2 separate regions of the Homo sapiens genome follow, and region 2 is linked to region 1. The links are contacts of gene promoters, found by promoter capture Hi-C in human tissues and cell types (Jung and others, 2019). All regions are on one chromosome and are shown on one strand. Each heading gives the region's core, a stretch centred on a gene start or on the middle of the fragment in contact. The rest is flanking DNA. Distances are from core to core; before and after follow the strand shown. Region 1 holds the start of EIF4A3 (eukaryotic translation initiation factor 4A3). Region 2 overlaps ENDOV (endonuclease V).

Evidence for each region. Contacts are between HindIII fragments. The study calls those that stand out against the background at their distance.
Region 2: a fragment that was not itself captured here is called in contact with the fragment with the promoter of EIF4A3 in region 1 in 2 of the 25 tissues and cell types used here (bladder and lymphoblastoid cells).

Annotation. Positions count from the first base shown.
Region 1 is chr17:80,142,368-80,149,477 of GRCh38, reverse strand. EIF4A3 (eukaryotic translation initiation factor 4A3) reads left to right here and starts at 2,350. Exons shown (of 12, transcript NM_014740.4): 1 at 2,350-2,685; 2 at 5,234-5,306. The coding sequence starts at 2,517. RefSeq lists enhancers at 269-981, 982-1,695, 1,696-2,408, 2,409-3,123 and silencers at 1,692-1,881, 2,722-2,771. The HindIII fragment of the contact is 11,065 bases long and covers 1-6,797 here.
Region 2 is chr17:80,420,147-80,426,909 of GRCh38, reverse strand. ENDOV (endonuclease V) reads right to left here. Exons shown (of 10, transcript NM_173627.5): 3 at 4,948-5,082; 4 at 4,665-4,704; 5 at 3,278-3,390; 6 at 1,810-1,878; 7 at 1,290-1,418. Among named protein-coding and RNA genes, the nearest start is that of MIR4730, 4.1 kb to the right of the region's middle. RefSeq lists enhancers at 956-1,455, 1,456-1,957. The HindIII fragment of the contact is 8,908 bases long and covers 1-6,763 here.

The DNA of each region.
Region 1 (7,110 bases), core at 1,101-3,600:
GCCTCCAGAGTAGCTGGGACTACAGACACCCGTCACCACGGCCAGCTAATTTTTGTATTTTTTTTTTAGTAGAGATGGGGTTTCACCATTTTGGCCAGGCTGTTCTCGAACTCCTACACTCATGATCCGTCTGCCTCGGCCTCCCAAAGTGCTGGGATTACAGGCGTGAGCCACCAGGCCTGGCCAGGATGCTCTGGTTTTAACTAAAATTAACCTTCATAAAAGGAGAGCTTTTCAAGCACTCCTAGAAAGAAGCTGTGGATTAAAGATGTGCCCAGCGATGCAAGCCAGATTTGTGACCATAAGAAAGGACAGGACCGGGCTCATGCCTGTAATCCCAGCATTTTAGGAGGCTGAAGCGGGCAGATCATGAGGTCAGGAGTTCAAGACCAGCCTGACCAACACGGGGAAACCCCATCTCTACTAAAAATACAAAAATTAGCCGGGCGTGGTGGTGCATGCCTGTAATCCTAGCTACTCAGGAGGGTGAGGAAGGGGAGTCGCTTGAACCGGGAGGCAGAGGTTGCAGTGAGCCAAGATTGCGCCACTGCACTCCAGCCTGGGGAACAGAGCGAGACTCTGTCACACACACACACACACACACACACACACACACACAAAATAGCGGGGCGCGGTGGCTCACGCCTGTAATCCTAGCACTTTGGGAAGCCGAGGTGGGCGGATCATGAGGTCAAGAGATCAAGACCATCCTGGCCAACATGGTGAAACCCGGTCTATACTAAAAATACAGAAAATTAGCTGGGCGTGGTGGCGCGTGTCTGTAGTCCCAGCTATTTGGGAGGCTGAGGCAGGAGAATGGCGTGAACCTGGGCGACAGAACTTGCAGTGAGCTGAGATCGCGACACTGCACTCCAGCCTGGGCGAACCGAGCAAGACTCCGTCAAAAAAAAAAAAAAAAAAAAAAAAAAAAAAGGACAGAGCTGGCGCTCGTGGAAATACAATTTTCCCAAAGTTAAAAACATGATTCTCAACAGCATGAACTGCCCTTCAAAGATGATGGAGCTGCTTCAAAAGGCGTTAGAGGAGCTGGGTACGAAGAAGCACTTAAAGTGTCAGATAAGAAAGCGGTTAGTGGCTGCGCGTGGACACCTGTGGTCCCAGGTGCTCTGGAGGCTGAGGCGGGAGGATCGCCTGTGCTCGGGAGGTGGAGGCTGCAGTGAACCGAGATCGCGCCATGGCACTCCAGCCTGGGCGACAGGGCCAGACTGTCTCAAAACAAACAAACGAACAAACAAAAAGCAGGTTAAGATGCACAACTGGTTAAAGTTCTGCTGGGCAATTAAAAAATGATCCCGTCTGGGTTATCTTTGCTGCAGGACACGCATTAGCAGCACCGTCTACTGACAAGTGGCCTTCATTAAGAGCAAATTGCAGGCTCAGCATGTATTTTATTTATAACAGCTGCTTGCCGGGCACAGTGGCTCATGCCTGTAATCCCAGCACTTTGGGAGGCCAAGGCAGGCGGATCACCTGAGGCCCCGCAGTTCAAGACCAGCCAGGACAACCCTAACCCCCGCCTCCCCCAACCCCGTCTCTACAAAAAAATTTAAAAAATTAGCCGGGCGTGGTGGCGCGCGCCTGAGGTCCCAGCTACTCCAGAGGCTGAGGCGGAGGCTACAATGAACCCTGATCCTACCACTGCACTCCAGCCTGGGCGACGGAGCGAGACCCTGTCTCCAACTCACCAGGCAAACGGTGAAGACACACCCAGGCGCGTCCCCTAAGAGGGACGCCGGCTTCAGGGGCCCTGGCCCTCCCCAGCGCAGACCCGCCGGAGCCCAGCGCCGCGCCGGGGCCCACCACCGGCGGCCGTGAGGGTTTCCACTCGAATCTCCCCGGCGAGCTGGGCGCCTCCACTACGGGTCTGCGACGCAGTCCACCCACTGCGGGCCCGAGAGAGGACCCGTGCTCGTCATTTTTATTCGAGGCGGGGCTATCTGGGGACCCCGCCCGGAGCGGAGGCCCCTCGCGGCCCCAGCCTGTTTCCAGGGAATTCAGGTCCACACGCCGCTCAAAGAACCTCAGCGCCCCAGTCCGCGAAATCCCGCGGCCGGTACGAAACACCGCCAACTTTAGAAGTACCACCCCCTCCATCCCTTTCGTAAGGAACTGGGTGCCCCGCCCTCAACGAGATCCCGCGGGAACTGCATATGGCGCGAGAGCAGAAACACCTTACTTTTCCCTGCGGCAAACGCCCAGTTCCCTTTCACGTGACGAAGAGTGCCCCGTCCCCCAGAGGCGTGGCCGCGTCGCGCGTACGCACGTACGCACGTACGCACGCACGTCTCTCGCTTTCGCATACTTAAGGCGTCTGTTCTCGGCAGCGGCACAGCGAGGTCGGCAGCGGCACAGCGAGGTCGGCAGCGGCACAGCGAGGTCGGCAGCGGCACAGCGAGGTCGGCAGCGGCAGCGAGGTCGGCAGCGGCACAGCGAGGTCGGCAGCGGCAGCGAGGTCGGCAGCGGCGCGCGCTGTGCTCTTCCGCGGACTCTGAATCATGGCGACCACGGCCACGATGGCGACCTCGGGCTCGGCGCGAAAGCGGCTGCTCAAAGAGGAAGACATGACTAAAGTGGAATTCGAGACCAGCGAGGAGGTGGATGTGACCCCCACGTTCGACACCATGGGCCTGCGGGAGGACCTGCTGCGGGGCATCTACGCTTACGGTGAGCGGGCGCGGGCCGCGGGGGCCAGCCGGGGGCGAGTCGGGGGCGAGCCGGGGGCTGAGGGCCAGACTGGTGACTCCCGGGCCGGCCCTGCGCTCCGGAGGTCGTGGTCAGGGTCGAGGCTCGGGGGCCAGTGACGTCCGACCCCCACCCCCACCCCCGTCCTCGCCCTCACGCCTGGCTGTGTCGGCGCTTTCGGTGTGTGTCCCCCGTGCAGAGCTCGGCGCTGGGTCTGTCGGGGGCTGCAGCCGCTTCGAGGCACCTCAGCGTCCTTCATTCAGCAGATAACTGATTTCTACCTATTAGCTTTTCTAGGTACTGGGGTTTTGGCGGTAAACCGGAAGGGTTTGCGCCTTTACGGGTTTTGAATTTCGTTTGGGGGGAAAGCATACTGTCAGGTTGCCCAGGCAACCTGAAGAACCTGAAGCGGGGTAATTGAATAGAGTGGGACTGGGAAGGAGGAGAGAATTAGTAAAGCAGAGAGGTAAGGGGGTTCGCAGGAGGGGGTGCCATTTGAGCAGAGTTCTGGATGAAGGAGACTGTTATGAGAAGAGGGAAGAGCAGTTGGGGCAGAAGGAACAGCTGGTGCCAGGGCCTTGCAGCCCTTAGCCAGCTGCATTCCAGGAACTGAAAGAAGTCCCCTGTGGTGGGATTTTGGAGAGCTAGTCGGGGCAGATCTAGCAAAGACGTGTAGGGTGACGAATAATTTGAATTTCATTTAGAAATCTAGTGGGAAGCCAGTGGAAGGTTTTAAGTAGCTATGTGACACGATCACATTTACAGTTTTAAAGATTCTTCTGGGTGTCTGTAGATTTGAGGTGAGGCGAGGCAAGGCAGGAGAGGAAACAAGAGAGTTGGGAGCTTTTGCTGCAGTTCAGGGAAGAGAGGATTGTGCTGCCTTGGAGATGGAGTACCAGGGAGCTGACAGCATTGGCTGATGGATTGAACGTGAGTGACAGAAGGAGGAGAGTTGGAGTGTTTTGAGTAACCGGTGGTTGATGCTGCAAACATTTGGCTAGGTAGGCAGCACTCCAGAGAGTCAGAATCAGGAGCTGTCTCTTGGTATGTTTGAAAGATGTGAGGAAGTTGAGGGAGAGCCTGGAGAAGAGGTTGGGTTGGGCACATAGATGGGAATGACCAGCATCTGGGATAAATGGCCTGTGTTTAATGCTTGGGACAGGGACATTTTTTATCCTGTAGTTCTCTTCCTTTTCTTTCTTCCTTTTCCTTCTGACAGTCCTGCTCTTGTCACCAAGGCTGGAGTGTAGTGGCATGATCTCAGCTTATTGCAACTTCCACTTCTGGGGCTCAAGCGATTCCTTTGCCTCAGCCTCCCGAGTAGCTGGGATTATAGGTGTGGGCCACCACGTCCTACTAATTTTTGTATTTTTAGTAGGGAGGGGATTTTGCCATGTTGCCCAGGCTGGTCTTGAACTCCTGACCTCAGTGATCCACCAGCCTCAGCCTCCCAAAGTGATGGCATTACAGGTGTGAGCCACCCCACCTGGCCGTATCCTGTAGTTCTTGATGCCACAACAGTTTGGACAAAGTGAAGCGAAGTTGCTGAGGATGCGTGGTGAAAAAGCATCTCAGGCAGCCTCACAGTGAGGCTGACAGCCCCACCTGGTTTCCTGGCACTCAGGCAGTCCCTGCCCTAAGACACTGTTGTTAGTTTCCCATCTATGTGCTTGCTCTTCATGAAGAGTTTAAATCATCTGCTATATTTGCATTTGTGTTAAGATGGGAAATTGTGCTACATTTTCTTTTGTTTCTTATTTTTCGCTATGCCCCAGAACTGAGCAGAGCTACATTTAAGAGACTACCAAAAAATAATTGAAATAGAGTTTTTGTACATAAAATTTTATTTACTTGAAAAACACGTGGTTCTTCTTCAAAATAGCCTCACCCTTTGGTGTAGTAGTTGCTTTGCAAGAGAGATGGTGTGATGGTGTTGTAGTTAGTGAGCTGCATCCAGACAGAACAACATAGGACACCCTGCAGCGTGACCCACGCAGGTTAAACAGAGTTGTAGACCTGTCAGCAACACACAGACTTAATGCTAGCTAGTAGGAGAGAACAATGGCTAGAGTGACTTTCCTGTTTTTTTGTTGTTTTTTTTTTTAATTTAAAAAGTAGTATAGGTTGTTTGTAATCCAGTCAAACCTAAGGGAGTAATTAGAGTAAAAAGTAAGTTTCTTTCCACCCCTCTACTGCAGTAACTGCCAGGAACATTTTGGCACTTACACTTCCAGATGCTGCACACCCAGATTTTTTTTTTTTTTTAAACAAAACTGTTGTCTATATTCTACAATTTGGTGGTTTTTTAAAAATAGAGATTGGTCTTTACAAATAATATCCCACGTTAGTGTAGAAATCACTCAGCCCAATTCATTGAGCCCCTGGGTTTTGAGAGCTTGCTATGTTGAACACTGGGTTAGGCTGGAGGACAGGTTCAAAAAACAAACCATGTCTGCCCCTGAGGAGCTCACAGTACAGGGTTTCTATGCTGTCATTGTGGTGAGGGCTAATTTTTTGTTTTTATTTGCAGGTTTTGAAAAACCATCAGCAATCCAGCAACGAGCAATCAAGCAGATCATCAAAGGGAGAGATGTCATCGCACAGTAAGTTGTCCTGGGGTGCGGCGCAGGGCTGGATGTAAATTTGGGCAGCGCAGTGCAGTTAGATGCTCTGGGATGACTGTTTCCCTCAGCTTGTACACGCTCAGTTCCAACACTTTCCCTGACTTTAGCCACAGGGTTTAATACTTTTTTAAATTTGTGTTCTCTACTGTGGAAAGCTTTCATTTTCTTTTTGAGATGGAGTCTCGCTCTGTTGCCCAGGCTGGAGTGCAGTGGTGCCATCTCGGCTCACTGCAACCTTTGCCTCTCAGTTTCAAGCTATTCTCCTGCCTCACCCTCCCAAGTAGCTGGGATTACAGGCATGCACCACCATGCCCGACTAATTTTCATATTTTTAGTAGAGACGGGGGTTTCACCATGTTGGTCAGGCTGGTCTCAAACTCCTGACCTCAGGTGATCCACCCTCCTTGGCCTCCTAAAGTGCTGGGATTTCAGGCATGAGTTACTGCGCCCGGCCAAGGCTTTCATTTTCTTAGCCAGCTTTGCTTAGTGGTTTGCTGGCATGTGGAATTGTATATAACACAATTTCGGAAAAACAGACTGTGCTTTTCCTCTGCTCTCACACCACCACAACAGTCATCAGCACAGAAGAAGACTTCTGTGAGCAGAGGTGTGGGGCTTTTCCAGCTGGGTGTCCTCCAGTTCAACTCACACCACCTGCCTGGAGATAGGCCATATCCTGCAGGTTGACGGCTCAGTCCCCATGACTACCCTCTTTTCAGACACCAGTTATAAGTTCGGATCTCTAGAACTTCTGACCAAGCAGCTTCAAGTTGGGTTCCCAGGATCCCCTCTTTAGGTTGGATTAATTTGCTGGAACAGCAGCTCAAAGAACTCAGGGAAACACATTTAGTGGTTTATTATAAAGGGTACTGCAGAGGATACAGATATGGGGGGAGGGGTGCAGCCTCCAAGGGGCGGGTGGTCACCTCCCGGAACCTCCTTGTGTTCCACTGTCTGTGTTCAGCCATCTAGAAGCTCTTCGAACCCAGTCCTCTTGGGTTTTTATGGAAAATTCCATGAGGTCAGCATTCTTTCCCCCATAAGGGAATAGGGCAGGAGCTTTTCTGGGATAATACCATAATGCTTTTTAAAAAAAAATTTGAAATTTAAATTTTTTACATTTTTCGAGACAGGGTCTTACTCTGTCTCCCAGACTGGAGTGCAGTCGTGTGATTACAGCTCATAGCAGCCTCAAGCGATCCTCCCACCTCACCCTCCCAAGTAGCTGGGACTACAGGCACACATCACCATGCCCAATTAATTTTTGTATTTTCTGTAGAGACAGGGTTTTGTTGTGTTGCCCAGGCTGCTCTCAAACTCCTGGCAATCTGTCTGCCTTGGCTTCCCAAAGCCTTGGGATTACAGGCGTGAGCCACTGTGCCCGGCCTAAACATTTTTTTTGTTAAGATATGGGGCCTCACTTCGTCACCCAGGCGGGAATGCAGTGGTGCAGTCATAGCTCACTGCAACCTCTAACTTCGAGGATTAAGGAATCGTCCCGCCTCAACCTCCCAAGTAGCTGGGACTGCCAGAATGTGCCACCGTTCCTGGTTAGTTTTTTGTTTTGTTTAGAAATGGGGTCTCTTGCTGTATTGCCCAGGCTGGTCTCGAATTCCTGGCTTCAATTAATGCTGCCTCTGCGTCCCAGAGTGTTGGGAATACAGGCCTGAGCCACCACGCCGTGACATGAGGGTCTTTATGACTCACAATCTGAAAGGCAGGGAAGATTAGAGCCCTGCTGTGGAGCAGGTGAAAGGAGAGCAGAAGGTCAGAGAGATTGTTT
Region 2 (6,763 bases), core at 2,303-4,802, 280 kb before region 1:
TCAGGGGCTGGGCTGCTGGAAGCAGCATGGCTTGTGCAGACCTGCGTCCACAGCCTCCACAGCACGCACAGCGGCCACCTAAAAAGGCCAATCTGCGGGCGCCCCGCTGCCAACTCACAGCCATCCAAGTCCCTGTGGGTGACGTCTGAAACCCTGGCGCACCCCAAGATGCTCACGGGCTCCCACCCACTCTGTACTTCACTGCCATCTGGCTCCGGCCACACCTTCCTGCTGAGTTTTTGTTTTTTAAAGTTTTTTTGAGATAAGGTCTTGCTCTGTCACCCAGGCTGGAGTGCAGTGGCCCAATCAGGGCACACTACAGCCTCGACCTCCTGGGCTCAGGTGATCCTCCCGCCTCAGCCTCCTAAGTAGCAGAGACCACAGGCACGCACCACCACACTTGGCTAATTTGTTTTTACGTTTTTTTTGTAGAGACGGGGTCTATGTTGCCTAGGGCGCCCTCAAACTCCTGGGCTCAAGTGATCCTCCCACCTCTGTCTCCCAAAGTGTTGGGGTTACAGGCGTGAGCCACCCTCCGGGCCCCCCATTTCTTGAGCACATCAAACTCCTTCCTGCCCAGGGCTGTCCTTCCCCTTCCTCCAGCGGGTCTCTTCCTAAGACTGACTTTTCTTGAACCCTCACTCTGTGGGCTTCTCTGGGACAGCATCCACCCGTGTCTTGTGGTCCCCTGGTCCTATCGAGGCTGTCTGTGGGCATCTCGTGCCAGCTGTCTCTCCCTGGCCCACAGGCTGAGTCCTTTCTCAGCTGAGCTGATGGCTTCAGCAGAGTTCTCACCCTTCCTGGGGGACCGAACACCAGTTTTGTGCTGGGTCCTGGGGCGGGCATACCCAAGTCCCCAGACTGGCGTCTCTGGGGCCTGCACAGCTTTCCTGCAGGAGCCTCCTGGCTCAAGTTCAGCTGCTCCCTCTGGGACCTGAGGGGCTGGCTGGGAACTGGCAGGACACCTCACCACCTGAGCTAACATCACTGATTCTCCAAGCTGGCCTGTATCTGGGTGCAGGAGGCTCAGAGAGGCTGGGAGGCTGAGTGCATGGGGTGCAGGGCCTGGGGATGAACTCTTGGGAGCCCTGCACCCCCCAGTCTACTGTCCTGACTGCAGGGCCCAGCAAGCTCTCCAGCAAGATGTCTGTGACCTGTCCTCGGCCCAGGAACCCCCGTCCTCATGTCACTGCACTCTGACCCCAGCTGAGCTGCTGGGGAGCCCTGAACAGCAGGTGGCAGGAAGCAGAGGAGCCTGTGCTGCCTCCCCGCATCCCCAGCACACCCACCTGGCGCACGGGCTCTGGGATCCGGAACCTGCAGCAGCAGCAAGTCAGGCGCACAGCGGCCTCCAGGCTCATCCTGTGGCCCACGGAGATGTAGAGGGGCCTGGTGCTGCGGTCGTGGCTCCTCAGGGCCTGTGACAAGGAAGGCGAGGGCTGTCCTGTGGGCTGGGCCACCGGGACCAGGGTCAGGACAGCCTCAGCAGCTGGAGCTCTGACAAAATGTCCTGGGGGCAAGGGGGAAGCTGAAGGGGCAGTGCTCTCAGGGGCCAGGGCCTGCCCACCCTCAGGGCGCCTTCCTGCTGCTTGTCCCTGGGGGAGGGTGGGCTCCCTCAGCACGGCTGGAGGAAAGAAACACAAACATCACACCCTGGACTCAGTCAGAGGCAGGAGGATGGATGGACGGGCAGGCGGGGGGTTGATGTGGGCAAGTGTGAGTGCACGCGTGTCTGCATGCACCTGTGTCTGCCTGCAAAGGATCCCCTACCCCGGGGCTTTGGAGGAGCTCAGGGCCCTAGCTACTCACCATTCCCAGGACAGTCCCAGAGTCTCCCAGCAGAGGGAATGAGTCTCCTCGAGTCTGCAGGAGTCGGATCTGGAAAATGGAGGGAAAAATGGGGAAAAAAACCCCTCTCTTCTTGGTGAAGGGCTGAAGGCAAGTCTCTATTTTTTGAGACGGAGTGTCGCACTGTTGCCCAGGCTGAAGTACAGTGGCGCGATCTCAGCTCACTGCAACCTCTGCCTCCCGTGTTCAAGCGATTCTCCCACCTCAGCCTCCTGAGTAGCTGGGACTACAGGCATGTGCCACCACGCCCGGCTAATTTTTTGTATTTTTAGTAGAGATGGGGTTTCACCATGCTAGCCAGGATGGTCTCGATCTCCTAATCGCGTGATCCACCCACTTCGGCCTCCCAAAGTGCTGGGATTACAGGAGTGAGCCACCGCAACCGGCCCAGGTCTCTTTATTTTTAAAACCCAGTCACTGGGCCAGGAAAGGGAAGGGGACTGATCTTGGAGGTGAGCCACAGCCCAGGCAAAGCCACACCACCTGAGACGACACTGAGCGTGCAGGCGGTGAAGTGGTCTTGTCCCTGAGCTGAGGGTGCTGCCCACAAGACCCTGTTCAAACCTGATGATGGGGCTTAGAACAAGGGCAACAATCTGCCCAGGGCCGCTGTGCCAGGCTGGCAGCCACACAGGTGCCGCCACTGCCCAGTGATGGGTGCTGAGCCCGCTTCCTTCCTGTGGCTTCTCTCCTGCTTTGGGCACATCTGACACAGCTCAACAGGCTGGTATTTCTGGCGGCGGTGGACTGGCTCATTGAGTGGGTCTAAGGTCCCCATCAACTCAACAGATTTTTATTAAGCAACTTCTCCATGCAGGCACCTGAGAGCTAGGAGGAATGAGAGACACAGTCTCTGCTCTCAGAATCTGCCATCCAGTGAAACAGCTGGGGGTGTCAACAGCTCCCTCCATTGTGAGTGTCTCACTCCCAGTGCCAACATGGGGTCCCAGAGGAGGAAGATGCAGGGGAAGGTGAGGTAGGAAGAGTGTGGGTGGCAGCTCCAGGCAGGTCTTGGCGGGAGGGGGGCCTGGAGGCTGTGGTACCTGAGCATGCAGGGGAGGAGACAGGGGCTGGGGCAAGGCGGGGTGGGGAAAGCACCAAGTGCGCCCGGGACAGCCTGGAAGCCCGTCCTGTCCCCAGTAACTGGAGGACTTAGCCCTACTTGGTGTGCCACGGTGGCTCAGAGGCAAGGGGGACCAGAGAGGCAGGCACACCCAGGAGGCAGGAGAGGAGCTCAGAGCGCCCTCAGCTGAGACAGGCAATGCAGCACCCAGAGGAAAGCAGGTCTTTCTTACTCCAGGCCACAAGCCAGGGATGAGGAGGGCAGCGTCAGCAGGCAAGGGCTGGTCCAGAAGTGTCCTCATGCCCAGGGCCACCACAGCCCCGCCACTGAGCTGCCGGGCATGGCCTGCAGCAGGCCCCTCCTCACCTTCTCCTTGTGCAGGGCGTTGTTCTCCAGCCCATCCACCTGCAGAAGTTTCTTGGCCACCCCAACACACGGCAGGTCTGTAAGGACGCCAAGGTGGCAGGCCACCCCAAAGCCTGCCAGAGAGAAAGGAGGGTGGGGTTGGGGAGGTGGGGCTGGGGCCTGGCACAGGGATTCAGGACAAGCCAGTCTTACCAAAAGCTTCCCTAAGTGAGCAGAGGTCTGTGGACAGGCAGAGGGCTGGGGAAACCAGATCTAAGTCCCAAGCAGACCTGGGCGAAAGCCCCCTGTGCCCGATGTCCTGGGTGCAAGGCCGTGGAGGAAGCCTCCTTCTCTCTGACACGGTCAGTGCCAGGGTCAGCACCTCGCTGGCGTGCTGGGATACTGCAGCTCTCCGGTCATTTCCTGCACCTCCCAGCTTCCTCTTCCCTCGACGGTGGCCTGCCAGCGCTGGCACGAGCATGTGGGTCGGCACATGACAACCCTTTGGCTCTGCACCCATGTGCGAGGGCAGCAGCCAGGGCCGAGTCACACTTGCTGGCCAGGAAGGCCCAATGTCACCCCTCCTGGGCCCTCTCTGGGTGCTGCTGCGCCGCCCGCAGCTCTGTATGTAACAGTAAAAGAGCCCATCTCCCTAGGCCGGGCGCGGTGGCTCACGCCTGAAATCCCAGCACTTTGGGAGGCCGAGGCAGGCGGATCACGAGGTCAGGAGATCAAGACCATCCTGGCTAACACGTGAAACCCCGTCTCTCCTAAAAATACAAAAAAATTAGCCGGGCGTGGTGATGGGCACCTGTAGTCTCAGCTACTCAGGAGGCTGAGGCAGGAGAGTGGCATGAACCCGGGAGGCGGAGGTTGCAGTGAGCCGAGATCGCGCCACTGCACTCCAGCCTGGGCGACAGAGCGAGACTCCGTCTCAAAAAAAAAAGAGCCCATCTCCCTCAGCCACGCTCCCTAGGCCAAGGTTCCTGGCATCAGTGGGGGCCTGGGTACACCTGTCTAGTTGTGGACAAGGGGCCTGACGGGCCATGCAGGTTGGGCGGCTGGCAGGGAAGGCCACTCTGAGCCCGGGCCCTGGGACATCTTTTGGTGATCAGGTCAGAACTGGATAGTGGCACCTGGAGATGAGCCAGCACAGGGCACTGTAGAGAAGGCAGTGGCGGACAGGAAAGAGGTAAGGGGTGAAGCGAAAGTAGACAGTCCTTTACCGGCGGTGGGGGAGGCGGGGCTGAGCGCACTGCGCGTCCCCGTTGCGCCGAGAAAGAAGCCATTGGAGGGGGCTGGCGGCAGAGGCCGAGGGCCCAGCATTTTCTGTGGGGGACGACAGAGGTGCCCTCTCCCCCCGCTCTTCCCCACAGTGCCCTCCCTGGACCTCCAAGAGCAGGATTACCTCGGTGGTGGAGTACCCCGTTTCCATCCACAAGAAGGACCTATGGAGCCACAGGGAGAGTCACAGTCAGCTGAGCTGCCCCTCGGCCCTCAGGACAGGGCCATCCCTGAGGCAAGAAGGGGGCACTGTCTCTGGGGTCCAGCTTTTTAGAAATCCTCATTCCTCTCTTCCAGGAAGCTCATGAGTCTCTCCCTGCCACTGTGGTGGTGGCGACCTGCAGCAGCCTTCCCTCCCCCAGGGGGAAGGAGGGACCTTTCTCTCGTCCTAGGGATGAGACACCTGCCTGGGGCATGAGGCCCGGCTCCTTCTCCCGCAGCTGCTGCACCAGCTCCAGCAAGAAGGGCACCTCTCGGAAGGCCAGGAAGCCCGACACGTAGGGGGCTGTGAGGCTGACCATGCGGCTCTCCTCATACACCACCTGACACCAGGCACGCAGCTCAGTGGGAAGCACAGCCTTCGGCCACCTGCTCCATCCCCAGTCCGTCCATGCCCTGCCCCCCTCATCCTTCCCTCTCCCTTACGTCACCCTCATGGCTCCCCTTCCCTGCCTCACCTATGAGATGATGGGTTTGGAAGAAGGAACTAGAAGATGTACCCTGCAAATTGGTGGTGGGCAGGTACCCCCGGGACCTGGTCCATAGGAGCAGACCCCCCCAGGACCTGGTCCGTAGCAGCAGCTCCCCCGGGACCTGGTCTGTAGCAACAGCACCCCCACCCCGCCCCCACCGGGACCTGGTCCATAGCAGCAGCCCCCTGGGACCCGGTCCATATGAGAACCCCCACCCCGGACCCGGTCCACTGGAGGAGCCCCAACTCCCAGACCTGATGTGTATAGTAGGAGCCCCTGGGACCTGGTCCATAGGAGGATTCCCTGGTATCTGGTCTGTATGAGGAGCCCCCAGGACCTGGTCCATAGGAGGATTCCCCGGGATCTGGTCTGTATGAGGATTCCCCGGGACCCGGTCCATAGGAAGATTCCCCGGGATCTAGTTCATAGGATGAGCCCCTGAAGCCTAGACTGTAGAAGGATTCCCTGGAATCTAGTCCATAGGAGGAGCCTCCGGGACCTGGTCCATAGGAGGATTCCCTGGGATCAGGTCCGCGGGAGCCCCCCAGGACCTGGTCTTCATCAGAAGCAAGGCTAAGGCTGCTGGCTGCATCACCTCTGCCTGCCCCTTGCTTTCCTGGTGTCTCCTCCTTTGTGTATTGAAGCCGATGCCCCACCCCACCCCTCCATGGGTTGTTGGAGGCTTAAAGAAGACACAGTGTTGGCCAGGCGTGGTGGCTCACGCCTGTAATCCCAGCACTTTGGGAGGCCGAGGCGGACGATCACCTGAGGTTGGGAGTTCAAGACCAGCCTGACCAACATGGAGAAACCCCGTGTTTACTAAAAATACAAAATTATCTGGGCGTGGTGGCGCATGCCTGTAATCCCAGCTACTCGGGAGGCTGAGGCAGGAGAACTGCTTGAACCCAGGAGGCAGAGGCTGCAGTTTAGAGCACAACATGGCAGGCCTGAGTCTCCTAACCTTGTGTTTTCCTTAGTCACACTGCCCTTAATGTGAAGACGTTTCCCACTATGTCCACATTCTGCAGACCTGTCTACCTTCCTGCAGTTTTGTTACTGAATCCCCCAAATCTCTTGGTGACAGCTTTCAAATCACAACTTCCACTCCTCACTTGTGGCTGGATCAATAATTAAACACACCAAAGCAGACGGAGTGCTCTGTATTAGCACAGAGGGTTGGGGATCATTCTCACAACATCTTCATCAATGACTCAATGGGGAAACTGATCAAATCTGCCCATGACCCAAAGTGGGGAGGGTCCATTCTGATAACAGAATTTGGGTTCACAGAGAAGCCAGCAGGCTGGATCACTGACATCCCCACAGAGTAAAAGTCACTTTGCACAGTGACATGTGGAATTCAAGTGTGGCCTGAGTTCCCACAGGAGGGGCGTGGCTGCTTACATCTGAATCTCTCCCATAATGTTATCATTCAGGTGACATTATGGGATGACTATGATGTGTAATCAGTATGATAATGACACTGTGGCTGTGGAGGAGAATGTCATTCTCAGGACAGGCCTGCTGATGT